Linked DNA regions of Homo sapiens: region 2 is linked to region 1. The links are contacts of gene promoters, found by promoter capture Hi-C in human tissues and cell types (Jung and others, 2019). All regions are on one chromosome and are shown on one strand. The core of a region is centred on a gene start or on the middle of the fragment in contact, and the rest is flanking DNA. Distances in the headings are between cores, read along the strand shown. Region 1 holds the start of IPP (intracisternal A particle-promoted polypeptide). Region 2 overlaps MAST2 (microtubule associated serine/threonine kinase 2).

The links. The method cuts DNA at HindIII sites, captures the fragments that hold promoters and counts their contacts. A contact is called where the count stands out against the background at its distance.
Region 2: a contact is called between a fragment that was not itself captured here and the fragment with the promoter of IPP in region 1, in 3 of the 25 tissues and cell types used here (adrenal gland, aorta and mesenchymal stem cells).

Annotation. Positions count from the first base shown.
Region 1 is chr1:45,747,214-45,754,314 of GRCh38, reverse strand. IPP (intracisternal A particle-promoted polypeptide) reads left to right here and starts at 3,662. Exons shown (of 9, transcript NM_005897.3): 1 at 3,662-3,718. LOC105378693 (a long non-coding RNA gene) reads right to left here and starts at 3,366. Exons shown (of 3, transcript XR_947290.2): 1 at 3,067-3,366. RefSeq lists a silencer at 3,552-3,821. The HindIII fragment of the contact is 34,877 bases long and covers 1-7,101 here.
Region 2 is chr1:45,848,753-45,855,853 of GRCh38, reverse strand. All of the region lies in intron 3 of MAST2 (microtubule associated serine/threonine kinase 2), which reads right to left. Among named protein-coding and RNA genes, the nearest start is that of MAST2, 49 kb to the right of the region's middle. The HindIII fragment of the contact is 4,121 bases long and covers 1,605-5,725 here.

The DNA of each region.
Region 1 (7,101 bases), core at 2,413-4,912:
GGCCCTACCAGCCAGATGGCCTGGGAAAATAGAATAGCGCTTGACATGATGTTAGCCAAAAAAGGCGGAGTCTGTGTCATGATTGGGGTCCAGTGTTGTACTTTTATCCCTAATAATACACCACCCGATGGGACAATCTCAAAAACCTTACAAGGCCTTACCACCCCAGCAAATGAATTAGCCGAAAACTCTGGAATAGAAGATCCCTTTATGGGCCTGATGGAAAGGTGGTTTGGAAAATGGAAAGGACTCATGACCTCAATCATTACCTCCCTTGCAATTGTTACAGGTGTACTCATCCTTGTGGGCTGCTGTATCATACCCTATATTCGTGGGTTAACCCAAAGGCTCATAGAAGCAGCTCTCACAAAATCCTCCCCTACGTCTCCCCCTCTGTACTCAGATAAGTTCTTGCTCCTAGATAATCAAGAAGAACAACAAAGCCAAATCCTGTTGAAGAAATCTGAAGAGGAAGAGCTATAGAACAGAAGAGGGGAAATTGTTGGGACAACTAAGTGCCTCTTCAAAGACTCAACTTTCCGCTCGTAAGTTGTAAAAGTTGTAAATCAATCCTACCTGCCCCCCTTCTTCTTCTTTTTGCAAATTGTGCGTTTACCATATTTGGAAAAGTTTAAGTCTTAGCCAATCAGGATCAGCTTAGATTGTGCAGTCCAACCCCAGTCAATAGGGGAAGGACACAAAAACAGGAACTGCATTAGGATTAAAAACTCCTTCCCTCCTTTGTTTGGTGTGCTCTTGTGATTTTAACAGGCGCAAGCAGCACCATCCTGCAGAAGTAAAGGTGCCTTACTGAGAAATTTTCTGTCTAAGTGTGGGTTTCTTTTGGCTACGCCAAGCACTTGTTTCCAATAAATTTGGGGGCTCGTCTGGGATCCTGTTCTCCTTCGGGAGGGGCTAGCGATTATCTTTTATGGGGAGACGCATCCCACTGCCTCACTGTGGTAGCTCCAAATACCATTACATTGGAGGCTAGGGCTTCAACATGTAAATTATGGGGAGGACACAATTTAGTCTATAGCAGCCTATAAGCATTTTTTTTTTTTTGAGACAAAGTCTTGCTGTTTTGCCCAGGCTGGAGTGCAGTGGCATGATCTCAGTTCACTGCAATCTCTGCCTCCCAGGTCCAAGCAATTCTAAAGTTAACATTTTATTTGGGAGGCAAGAATTGCAATTCAAAGCATATACACAGACTGGGTGTTCTTTGGTTCACTTTGAGGTTTTACAAAAAGGAGAAATGTTACATATGGCTTTGAAAGAAAGTTCATTGGCACTAGGAAAGTTTTAGGTTGCTGGCAAGCTCTGATTGGTGAGTGACTGCAGTGGGTAAAACTAGTCCTTTGAGGCTGGGCTCAGTGGCTCAAGCCTGTAATCCCAGGACTTTGGGAGGTTTAGGTGAGTGGATCACTTAAGCCTGGGAGTTCAAGGCCAGCCTGGCAACATGATGAAACCCTGTCTCTACAAAAAAGACAAAAATTAACTGGGCTTGCTGGTATGCAGCTGTAGTTCCAACTATTTGGGAAGCTAAAGTGGGAGGATTGATTGAGCCCAGGAAGTCAAGGCTGCAGTGAGCCCCGCCCCAATCACACCACTGCACTTCAGCCTGGGTGACAGGGAGAGAGACCCTGTCAAAAACAAAACAACAACCAACAACAACAACAAAAACCACCAAAAAACCAAACTAGTCTTTGAGTCATGGCAGTTTGTTTCAATAGCTATTGGGTAAAACTGGTTTCAGGTTACAACAGGCAGTTTCAGCAGACAGGGTTGCAGAGAATTACATTCTTTGAGCAATGAAATGTGCCCTCAGTGTTTCCCCTCCCACCATTTTCGGTGGGTATGAGAAGAATGGCCCAATCTGTATGCTTAACTTTCACAAGTGTAATCCAGAGTAAGTCATGAAATTGATTTTAGTAGTGCTGAAGTATAATTTTCTGAAGAGTAAAACCATGACTCTCTTACAAATATAAAAAAAAAGTATCAAATATTTTATTTATCTCATTAACTTATAAGGGAGCCAGTAAGATATTTAGGAATGTAGCATGAATTTGCTAAGAATCAGGAATGTTTAAATGAATTTGCTGAGAAGGGTAAAAATGGCTTAATATGCTACAGGTCAATAAAACAATGTTTTGGTGTATCTTTTCTACAGACGGGCAAGAATTATTTTAAGTACTACCAGTTTTCTGGTGAAATACTTTAGTCAATAGAAAGTCAGAGCTCCCTATGGATGCAAATCCGTCCAGCCTTACACTGAAAGGGCACACAGAATTCTCTTTTCCTCATTTCCAAGTCTTTGACAATGTTTGCTGACAATAGGTCCCTGTTAGCAGTTTTTGGTAATGAAGTAGAAAAGAAGAAATAAAAATTTAGTGCACTGCGGGTCGTAAGTGTAAACATAGTTTTGTGAAGATTTTGTTTCAGGCCAGGCACAGTGGCTCACACCTCCCAGCACTTTGGGAGGCCGAGGCGGGCGGATCACTCGAGCCCAGGAGTTGGAGACCAGCCTGGTCAACATGGCGAAATCTTGTCTCTACTAAAAATACAAAAAATTAGCCTGGCGGTGGTGGCACAGGCCTGTAGTCCCAGCTACTCAGGAGGCTGAGGTGGGAGGACTACCAGAGCCCAGGAAGTCGAGGCTGCAGTGAGCCGAGATGGCACCACTGCACTCCAGCCTGGGCGACAAAGCCAGGCCCTGTCTCATAAAAAGAGAAAGAAATACACTTTGGGAGGCCGAGTCGGGCGGATCACCTGAGGTGGGGAGTTTGAGACCAGCCTGACCAACATGGAGAAACTCAGTCTGTACTAAAAATACAAAATTAGCCGGGCATGGTGGCGCATGCCTGCAATCCCAGCTACTTGAGAGGCTGAGGCAGGAGAATCGCTTGAACCCAGGAGGCGGAGGTTGCGGTGAGCCGAGATCCGGCCATTGCATTCATTCTAGCCTGGGCAACAAGAGCGAAATTCCGTCTCAAAAAATAAAAAATAAAAATAAAAATAAAGAAATGAGATTTTATGTTAGATATATACTTCTATATATATACTCACAAGTATGTGGTATTGAGTTTGATGTAAAATATTTTTGTTCACCGTAGGCTGGGATCAAAACAGTTTGAAAGCCACTAATGTGACACATGAGGGTCAACAGTGAAAAAAACTGGACTTTTGAGTTCTTCCTTCCCCAAAATAAGTATCCCTTCAGTGCCAGGCTCAGTCATGCACTCAGAAAACGATTCGAGAGAACAGTAGAGAAGGACCGTGCCAGGTGTTCGGCTCGTCTCTGCTTAACTGAGATCCGCGGCCTTCTTGGGACACCACAAGAATCAGAGTGCAAGCGGAATGGAAAGGGCGAGCCAGCCGGCCCCAGCAGGCAGAAGCAGAGGCTTGCAGCTAAGCTGTTGATCCTTGGGGAAGCAAGCCCAAGCCCTGGGCCCCATCAGTGGGCACTGAGAGGCGCCAGCGGCCCAGTCTCCCGCGAGCGGAAGAACCTCGCGCACGCGCAGTGAAAACCCAGGGCCCGCGAAGCGTCCGAAGTCCCTTCCCACCGCCCGGCTTCGCCTCCAGTTCTCGGGGAACTGTACGGCCCAGTCACTCCCGCCTCGTCACCCCCGCCAGGTTTCCCCCGCCCTCTCCGGCCGGGGCTGGTCGCGACTGCGCGCGCAGGGCCTGAGCGGGCGCCGGAGGGAAGGGGAAGCGGCGGGTAAGGAGGGCCTGCGTTCGGGCGCGTCTGTGACGGGGTTGGGAACTTCCTCTTCTACTCCCTCCGGCTTTCCGGACCCCTGAGGACTGGAGTGAGAGAAGCCTCTAGAACTGTGTATTTCCTTGTCTTTCCTTCTGCCGCCGCAGGCCTTCCTCCGACAGTCTAAGTGTCGCCCTCCCCAGACCTTCTCGTCCGGACCGCTCCTGCCTCCCCCGCCCCAACTGGGGAATCCTGAGGCTGTGTCCCCAGTCCCTCTGTTGTCGCCTCGTTTGTCTGAGATCCCTTCCCTGACCTTTAGGTAGCGCAGGAACGATTATTAGCTTTTAGTGTAGCAGCAGTTTAGGGCTAGCTCTCTAGGCCGGGCCCCCAACTCAAGCACAAAGAACCACGGGTGTTTTGACACTTGTTCCGGGGATTCTTTCTGACACCCCTTTGCTGAAGCAGTTTCCACATGTTCCCAGCAGTGAATTCAAAGCCAGCAAACATAGGTCCGCTTTAGTTCCTCTGGGCATTTCTACCGTTTCCTAATAATCTGCTTTTTTTTTTGAGACAGTCTCGCCCCTTCTCCTAGGCTGGAATGCAGTGGTGCGATCACAACTCACTGCAGCCTCGACTTCTCAGGCTCTAGCGATCCTCTCACCTCAGCCTCCCAAGTAGCCGGAAGTACAGGCTTGCCCCATCACAGCCAGCTAATGTTAAAACAATTTTTTTTGCGGCGGGGGGCTCGCTGTATTGCCCAGGCTGGTCTTGAACTCTAGGACTCAAGCGATCCTCCCTGGCCGGGCGCGGTGGCTCACGCCTGTAATCCCAGCACTTTGGGAGGCCGAGGCGGGCGGATCACGAGGTCAGGAGATCGAGACCATCCTGGCTAACACGGTGAAACCCCGTCTCTACTAAAAATGCAAAAAATTAGCCGGGCGTGGTGGCGGGCGCCTGTAGTCCCAGCTGCTCGGGAGGCTGAGGCAGGAGAATGGCGTGAACCCGGGAGGCGGAGCTTGCAGTGAGCCGAGATCGTGCCACTGCACTCCAGCCTGGGCGACAGAGCGAGACTCCGTCTCAAAAAAAAAAAAACAAAAAACAAAAACAAAACAAAAAAAAAAAACAAAAAATCAAGCGATCCTCCCGACAGGACATCCCAAAGTGCTGGGGTTATAGGTGTGAGCCACCTTGCCCAGTCAACAATCTGCTTTTCAAGTTTGGGGCACGTGAGGCATGCAACGTCACAGAATTGTGCTCTTTTCCTTTGGAAATATGGTCACTCCACATGCCACCTTTTGGGATGACGTTCCTACTCCACTGACAGTGGGATGGTATCAGCAGTTACTGAGAAGCATGGTAACAGACTAGTATTTCTGTTGTCTGCCACCCGAATGGATATTCAGTCAACTCTTTCTTGTAGCAGGAGGCAGCATTTTAGCTCAGTGGCTGTGCTTGATGCCTTGAAGTAGGGGACAGAGGAGGTACCTTGTAATTAAACCACTAGGGTTCAAAATGTGCTGACAGAAATGTAAAACAGAAAAGGCCTGACAGTCATGTCATGTTGATAATAGTTCCAGGTCACATTTCTGTGTAGGGCCAAATACATGGTTTCTCCGCCCCCACCCCCTTTTTTTCCTTTTTTTTTTTTGAGACGGAGTCTCTCTGTTGCCCAGGCTGGAATGCAGTGGCTCCATCTCCACTCACTGCAACCTCTGCCTCCCAGGTTCAAGCGATTCTCCTGCCTCAGCCGCCCACGTCACTGGGATTACAGGCGCCCACCACCATGACTGGGTAATTTTTTGTATTTTTTAGTAGAGATGGGGTCACCATGTTGGCCAGGCTGGTCCTGAACGCCTGACCTCTGGTGATCCACCCGCCTCAGCCTTCCAAAGTGCTGGGATTAAAGGCGTGAGTCACCGCACCTGCTTTTTGTTGTTGTTGTTGTTGAGACACGGTCTTGCTCTGTTGTCCAGGCTGGAGTGCAGTGGCACCATCTCAGCTCACTGCAGCCTGGACTTCCCTGGCTCAGGTGGTCCTCCCACCTCAGCCTCCCCTGAGTAGCTGGGACTACAGGCCTGTGCTATCATGCCTGGCTAATTTTTTTGTATTTTTAGTAGAGACAGGGTTTAGCCATGTTGCCCAGACTGGTCTCAAACTCCTGGACTCAAGCGATCTGCCTGCCTCAGCCTCCTAAAAATCTGGGCTTACAGGTATGAGCCACTGTGCCCAGCCCCTTTCACCCTCTTTAAAAAATTTATTTTTCACTTCAATTTGGGTGACAGAGTGAGACCCTGTCCCCCAAAATAGATATTTTTTAAATTGGCACATAATAATTGTTTTATATTTACATTTATGAGGTACAGTGTGATATTTTGATACATGTATATAATGTATAATTATCAAATCAGGGTAATTACCATATTCATCACCTCAAACACTTCTTGCTATTATATGCTAGTTATATGTAATATGTTGATATTCTGTAGATGGTGATATGAAGTTTTAGCAGCTACCTTCGAATCTCTCAATCAAATTTCTCAATAAGTTAATTCCTAGAAAGTGATGATAATCAGCCTTGTTATTTTGACTTTGATAAGTTTAAATGCTATAAACGTAACCATTTTTTTTCTAACATCAGCCCACACTATAAGTCTTATTACCCATTGTCATTGATACCTAAATTACAAAATCTTAGTCATCTTAAATTTCCCTGTGCTATTCCATATGTCTTATATTACAGGATCTCATGGTTTTTTTTTTTTTTTTTTTTTTTTTTTTTTTTTGAGACAGAGTCTTGCTCTGTTACCCAGGCTGGAGAGCGGAGGGCAGTGGTGTGATCTCAGCTCACTGCAACCTCCATCTCCTGGGCTCAGGTGATTCTTGTGCCTCAGCCTCCCAAGTAGCTGGGATTATAGCCCTGATCCACCACGCCTGGCTAATTTTTATATTTTTAGAAGAGACGGGGTTTTGTCATGTTGGTCAGGTTGGTCTCGAACTCCTGGATTCAAGTGATCCTCACGCCTCAGCATCCCAACGTGCTGGGATTACAGGCGTGAGCCACTGTGCCCAGCAGTTTCTTTATTTAAAAAGTAATTTAGAACGTGTCCGGTGGCCTAATAATTCCTATGCAGTGTGATATGGTGGAACAGTCCTGGATTTAGAGTAAGAAGGCCTGGATTCAGATACTGAGACTGTCATACTAACATTGTATCCTTGGGGAAACTTTGAGCTTCAGTTTCCTTTTCTCTCATTTTAGATAAGATTATCTTTTCTTCTCACCTCTTAATTATTGTGAGAGTTACCATTGACATAATATGTGGAGAAGTTAAAAGTTAAAAAAAAAACCCAACCTAAGCTGTTGTTATTTCTCCTTGTTCTCATTCATTTCACAAACATTGGAAACC
Region 2 (7,101 bases), core at 2,416-4,915, 100 kb before region 1:
AGAGCAATAAAGAAAGAAAATGATAGAAAAGGAATATATAGATTGGAAAAAATAAAACTGTCCTATTTGAAAATGACATGATTGCCTATGTAGAAATGCTCAATCTACAAGAAAAACTCCTAAATGAGTTCAGCAAACTCACCGGATACAAGATCGGCACACGAAAACCAACCATATTTCTATATACTAGTAGCAACAAACATGTAAAAACTAAAATTTAAAATACAACATCATTTAAAGTTGCAAAAAAAAAAGTTTCATCTCATTTCTTTTTTCTATCTGACCTCTTAAATTTCAACCCCACTTGAAATAAATTACCAGCGCTGAGGGACTGAGACTGTTCCTGGCAAGCAGCATGAAAATACAAAAAGATAAAATACTTAGAGACAGAAATGCAGCAAAACACATACAAGATATGTATGCTAAAAATTACAACATGCTGATGAAAAGAATTAAAAATCTACATAAATGCAGAGACACACTATTTTCATGGGTCAGAAGAATCAAATAGAAAAAAAAAGCCATTTCTCCTCAAAACTTATTGTGATATCGTGATTTATAATAAAAATATATATTTTTTGGTCTTCATCCTAGTTCTTGACACAGAGCTCCCAATCCATTAGAATTTATTGGGTGATAGACATGCCTTCTGTTCTAACAAAGGGAATGTTAACTGGGCTCCTGTATGGAGGCTGTGCACCAGAAAGACCAAGCCATGATTAGAAAATTGGAACTTTCCACCTCACCCTCCAATCCTCTGGGAAGGGGATCATGCCTATGTGATAAAGCTGCCATGAAAATCAGTGAAGTACAGGGTTCAGAGAGCTTCCAGGATCCTGACCACATGCAGGTACCTGGAGGATAGTGAGCCCAGAGCGGGTGAAGCTCCACACTCCTTCCCACCTGCCTCATCCTATGTGCTTCTCCACCTGGTGGTTCATCTGTATCCAATTTATAGCTGGTCAGTCAAAAGAACAGGTAAAACCAGCTAGGACTGAAACTGGATCTAAAGTAGGGGCAATCTTATGGGACAGGGCCTTAGCCTATGGGATCTGATGCTTATTCCAGGCATGCAGTATAGGAGTTGAGTTAAATTATAAGGCACCCAGCTTCTGTCTGCTGTTTGGTGTACAGGGAAAAAAAACCCATAAATGTGGTGTCAGAAGGGTCCTGTGTTGTGGTGAGTTTGAGAGTAGGTAAAAGTTTAGTTTTTCCTTTATCTCATATTTCTTTATAGGTTTAATGTAATTCCTATCAAAATCCCAGCAAGACTTTTTGTAGATATAAAAAAGCTTATTCTAAAATTTATGTAGAAAGAAAAAAAATCACTAAAACCATTTTGAAATAGAACAGTAAGTGTAAGGAATCACTCTACCCAATGTTAAGACTTACTATATAGCAGCAGTAATCAAAACATTGTGGTAATGGCAGAAGGAGAGTCCCATAAGTGAACTGAACAGAAAAGAGAACCCAGAAATAAACCACACAAATATGTCCAATTTTTTTTTTTTTTTTTTGAGACAGAGGGTCACTCTGTCACCCAGGCTGCAGTACAGTGGTACGATCTCAGCTCACTGCAACCTCTGCCTCCCGGGTTCAAGTGATTCTCCTGCCTCAGCCTCCCGAGTAGATGAGATTACAGGCATGAACCATCACTCCTGGCTAATTGTTATATTTTTAGTAGATAGGGTTTTGCCATGTTGGCCAGGCTGGTCTCGAACTCCTGACCTCAGGTGATCTGCCCACCTTAGCCTCCCAAAGTGCTGAGATTACAGGCATGAGCCACTGTGCCCGGCCTGAATATGTCCAACTGATTTTTGGCAAAAGTGGAAAAGCAATTCAATGCAGAAAGGACACACTTTTCAATAACTTATACTAGAACAACTGGACATCCATGAGCTGAATAAAAAAATAAGCTTAACCTACAACTCACACTATACACAAAAATTACTTCAAAATTGATCATGAGTTAAATGTAAAAAATAAAACTGTAAATTTTTAAAAGAACACAGAGGAGAAAATCTTCAGAACCTAGGAATAGGTGAAAAGTTCTTAGACATGACACCAAGAACACAATCAGAACTTCATCAAAATTAAAGACATTTTTCAACCTAAGAAAGCTGATTGAAAAAAAAAAGAGATTGTACACATAAAGGTAGTATAAAAAATTTTTCTTTTAAGAAACAGAAAAACAATTTTAGGATGGGCACAGTGGCTCACGCCTGTAATCCCACCACTTTGGGAGGCCGGGGTGGGTGGATCACTTGAGGTCAGGAGTTCAACACCAGCCTGGTCAACATGGTAAAAACCTGTCTCTACTAAAAATACAAAAATTACACAGGCGTGATGGTACACACCTGTAATCCCAACTACTCAGGAGGCTGGGCAGGAGAATCACTTGAACCCAGGAGGTAGAGGTTGCCGTGAGCCGAGATCGAGCCACTGCACTATGGCCTAGGTGACAGAGACTCTGACTCAAAAAAAAACAATAATTATTTTTAAAAAATTAATAAATGTGTTATGCAAAACACTCTGTTAAAAAGAATAAAAAAGTTATTTGCAAACCACATATCCAACAAGGAATTTATATTTAGAATACATACAAAACTTTTAAAAGTTTATAGTTTTAGGGCATGGGGCTCATATCTGTAATCCCAGCACTTTGGGAGGCCAAGGCAGGTGGATCACCTGAGCTCAGGAGTTCGAGACCAGCCTGACCAACATGGTGAAACCCTGTCTCTACTAAAAATACAAAAATTAGTGAGCATGGTGGTAGGCGACTGTAATCCCAGCTACTCGGGAGGATGAGGTATGAGAATCACTTTAACCTGGGAGACAGAGGTTGCAGTGACCCAAGATCATGCCACTGCACTCCAGCCTGGGTGACAGAGATACCATCTCAACAAAAAATAATTGTTTTTAATTTAAAAAAAAAGTTAATAGCTTTAAAAAAATCCATTGCCAGTGGTGCAGATTCAAAAAACAAACACATAAAATCTATCAACATGTGAGTAAATAACCAAGTGATGTGTGACCATACAATGGAATACTACACACAAAGAGGGAAAGAACTGAGTGGATACATGCAACAATTTAGACGGATCTCAAAAACATTATACTTACTGAAAAAAATCTCAAAAGGTTATATACTATATGGTTCCATTTATATAATATTCACATAAAGGCCAGGCATAGTGGCTCACCCTTTTAATTCCAACACTTTGGAAGGCTGAGGGAGGAGGATCACTTGAGCCCAGGAGTTCGAGACCAGTCTGGGCAACATAGCAAGACTCCATCTCTACAAATTAAAAAAAAAAAAAAAAAATTAGCCAGGCATGGTGGCTTGTGCCTGTGATCCCAGCTACTCGGAAGGCTGAGGCAGGAGGATCACCTGAGACTGGGAGATGGAGGCTGCAGTGAGCCATGACTGCAAAACCACACTCCAGCCTGGGGGACAGAGTGAGACCCTGTATCAAAAGGAAATATAAATATAAATATAATTCACATAGAGAAGAACACATTAGTGGTTGCAAGAAGATAAAGACGGGGTGGGAGTGCAAATATAAAAGGGCAGCCCAAGCGAATTCCTTTGTAATGACAGTACGGTTCTGTATGTTGATTGTGGTGGTGGCCATTACACAAATCTATTCATGGGATGAGATTGCATGACTTGTACATACACACACAAACATATACAAGTGTATATAAAGACCAAATAAGGGCTATAATCTAGTTAATGATATTGTACAAATGTCATTTTCATGGTTTTAATATTGTATTATAGCTATATAAGATGACACTATTGGTGAAAGCTGGGTGAAGGGTTCATAGTACTCTGCACTATTTTTGCAACTTCCTATGCAACCATAAGTATTTTTTTAAAGGCTAAATAACTGAAAAAAAAGGAAATTCCTATATTTTCATTTTAGTATCTCCCTATAAATGCATGTTACTTTATTCCCAAAATGCCCCAACACATCTCAGAAACGTTTCTGTTTGGAGCTTTTTGCCCTCTTTAAAAAATAGTCCATTAATTCTATTTGCCAGCAGCAATCTCAGTCCCTCAGCTCAGGTAATTCATTTCAAGTAGGGCTGAAAATTTTTTCTATTAGGTCAAGCAGAAAAAAGGAAGTCAGATGAATAGATGTAGAAAAAGCTTTCAATAAAATCCACCATCCCTTCATGATAAAAACCCTCAACAAACTAGGCATCCAAGGAACATATCTCAAAATAAATAAAAGCCACCTATGACAAATCCACAGCCAACATCATGCTGAATGAGAAAAACTGGAAACATTCCTCTTGAGAACTGGAACAAGACAAGGATGTCTACTCTCCTGACTGCTGGTCAACAGAGCACTGGAAGTTCTAGCCACAGCAATCACACAAAGGAAAGAAAGAAAAGGCATCCAAACAGCAAAGAAGTCCAGCTATCTTTCTTTGCAGACAATATGATTTTATACCTGGAAAACCCTAAAGACTCCGCCAAAGGCTCCTGGAACTGATAAATGGCTTCCCAGTTTTAAGATACAAAAGCAATGTACAAAAATCAGTAGCAATTCTATATACCAGTAACATTCAAGCTGAGAGCCAAGTAAAGAATGCAGTCCCATTTACAATAGCTACAAAAAAAAGAAAAAGAAAAAGTACCTAAGAATACATCTAACCAAGGAGGTAAAAGATCTCAACAAGGAGAACTACAAACACTGCTAAAAGAAATCACAGGTGACACAAACAAAAGGAAAAAAATTTCATGCTCATGGATTAGAAGAATCAATACTGTTGAAACAGCCATACTGTCCAAATCAATCTACAGATTCAGCATAATTCTTATCAAACTACCAATGTCATTTTTCACAGAACTAGAAAGAACTATTCTAAAATTTACATGAAACCAAAAAAGAGCTCAAATAGCCAAAACAATCCTAAGCAAAAAGAACAAAGCTGCAGGGATTACATTACCCAGCTTCAGACTATACTATAAGGCTACAGTGTTTAAAAAAAAAAAAAAAAAAAAGCATAGTACTGGTACAAAAGCAGACACATAGACCTATAGAACAGAATAGAGAACCCAGAAATAAAGCCACACACCTACAATCTTCTGATCTTTAGCAAAGTCAACAAAAATAAGCAATGGGGAGAGGACTCTATTCAATAAATAGTGCTGGGATAGCTGGCTAGGCACATGCAGAAGAATGAAACTGGAACCCTACCTTTCACCACATACAAAAATTAACTCAAGATGGATTAAAGATTTAAATGTAAGACCTCAAACTGTAAGAATCCTAGGGAAAAAACAAACAAACAAACTAGGAAACACCATTCCAGACACTGACCTTGGGAAACAATTTATGACTGAGTCCTCAAAAGCAATTGCAACAAAAACAAAAATTGTCAAGTGGGACCTAATTAGACTAAAGAGTTTCTGCACAGCAAAAGAAACAATCAGTAGAGTTAACAGCCTACAGAATGGGAGAAAATATTTGCAAACTATGCATCTGACAAAGGTCTAATATCTAGACTCTATAAAGAACTTAAACAATTAAACAAGCAAAAAACAACCCCATCACAAAATGGGCAAAAGACATGAACAGACACTTCTCAAAAGAAGATATACAGGCAGCCAACAAACATGAAAACATGCTCCACATACTAACCATTTGAGAAATGCACATCAAAACCACAATGAGATACCATCTTATGCCAGTCAGAATAGCTATTATCAAAAAGCAAAAAAACAACAGATGCCGGCAAGACTGCAGATAAAAGGGAACACGTATACACTGTTGGTAGGAATGTAAATTAGTTTAGCACTCTGGAAAGTAGTTGGGAGACTTCTCAAAGAGCCTAAAACTGAACTACCATTCAACCCAGCAATCCTATTACTGGGTAAATATACAAAAGAAAACAAATCATTCTACCAAAAAGACACATGTACTCACATGTTAATCACAGCACTATTCACAATAGTAAAGACATGGGATCAACCTAGGTGCCCATCAACAGTGGACTAGATAAAGAAAATATGGGCGGGGCACAGTGGCTCACGCCTGTAATCCCAGCACTTTGGGAGGCTGAGGCAGGCAGATCACGACGTCAGGAGATCCAGACCATCCTGGCTAATATGGTGAAACCCCATCTCTACTAAAAATACAAAAAATTAGCTGGGTGTGGTGGCGGGCGCCTGTAGTCCCAGCTACTCCAGAGGCTGAGGCAGGAGAATGGTGTGAACCTGGGAGGTGGAGCTTGCAGTGAGCCTAGATCGCGCCACTGCACTCCAGCCTGGGTGACAGAGAGAGACTCCATCTCAAAAAAAAAAAAAAGAAAAGAGGGGGTCCAGCTTTAATCTTCTGCATATGGCTAGCCAGTTATCCCAGTATCATTACTTGTTTTTGTCAGTTTTGTCACAGATCACATGGTCATAGGTGTGCAGCTTTATTTCTGCCGGAAATAAAGTTCCATTGATCTATGTGCCTTTTGTACCAGTAACATGCTGTTTTGGTTACTGTATCCCTATAGTACAGTTTGAAGTTGGGTAACGTGAGGCCCCCAGTTTTGTTCTCTTTGCTTAGGACTGCCTTGGCTATTCAAGCTCTTTTTTGGTTCCATACGAATTTTAAAATCGTTTTTTCTAGTTCTGTGAAGAATGTTCTTGGTAGTTTGATAGGAATAGCATTGAATCTGTAAACTGCTTTAGGCAGTATGGTCATTTTAATGATATTGAGTCTTCCTATCCATGAGCATGGTGTGTTTTTTCATTTGTTTTTGTCTTCTCTGATTTCCTTGAGCAGTGTCTTCTAATTCTCATTGTAGAAATCTTGCACCTCCCTGGTTAGCAGTATTCCTAGGTATTGTATTCTTTTTGTGGTAATTGTGAATGGGATTGCCTTCCTGATTTGGCTCCCAGCTGGGCTGTTGTTGGTGGATAGGAATGCTAGTGGTTTTTTGTATGTTAATTTGGTGTCCTGAAACTTTGCTGAATTTGTTTATCAGTTGAAGGAGCTTTTGGGCCAAGATGATGGGGTTTTCTACACATACAATCATGTCATCTACAAACAGGGATAATCTGACTTCTCTCTTCCTACTTGAATGCCGTTTATT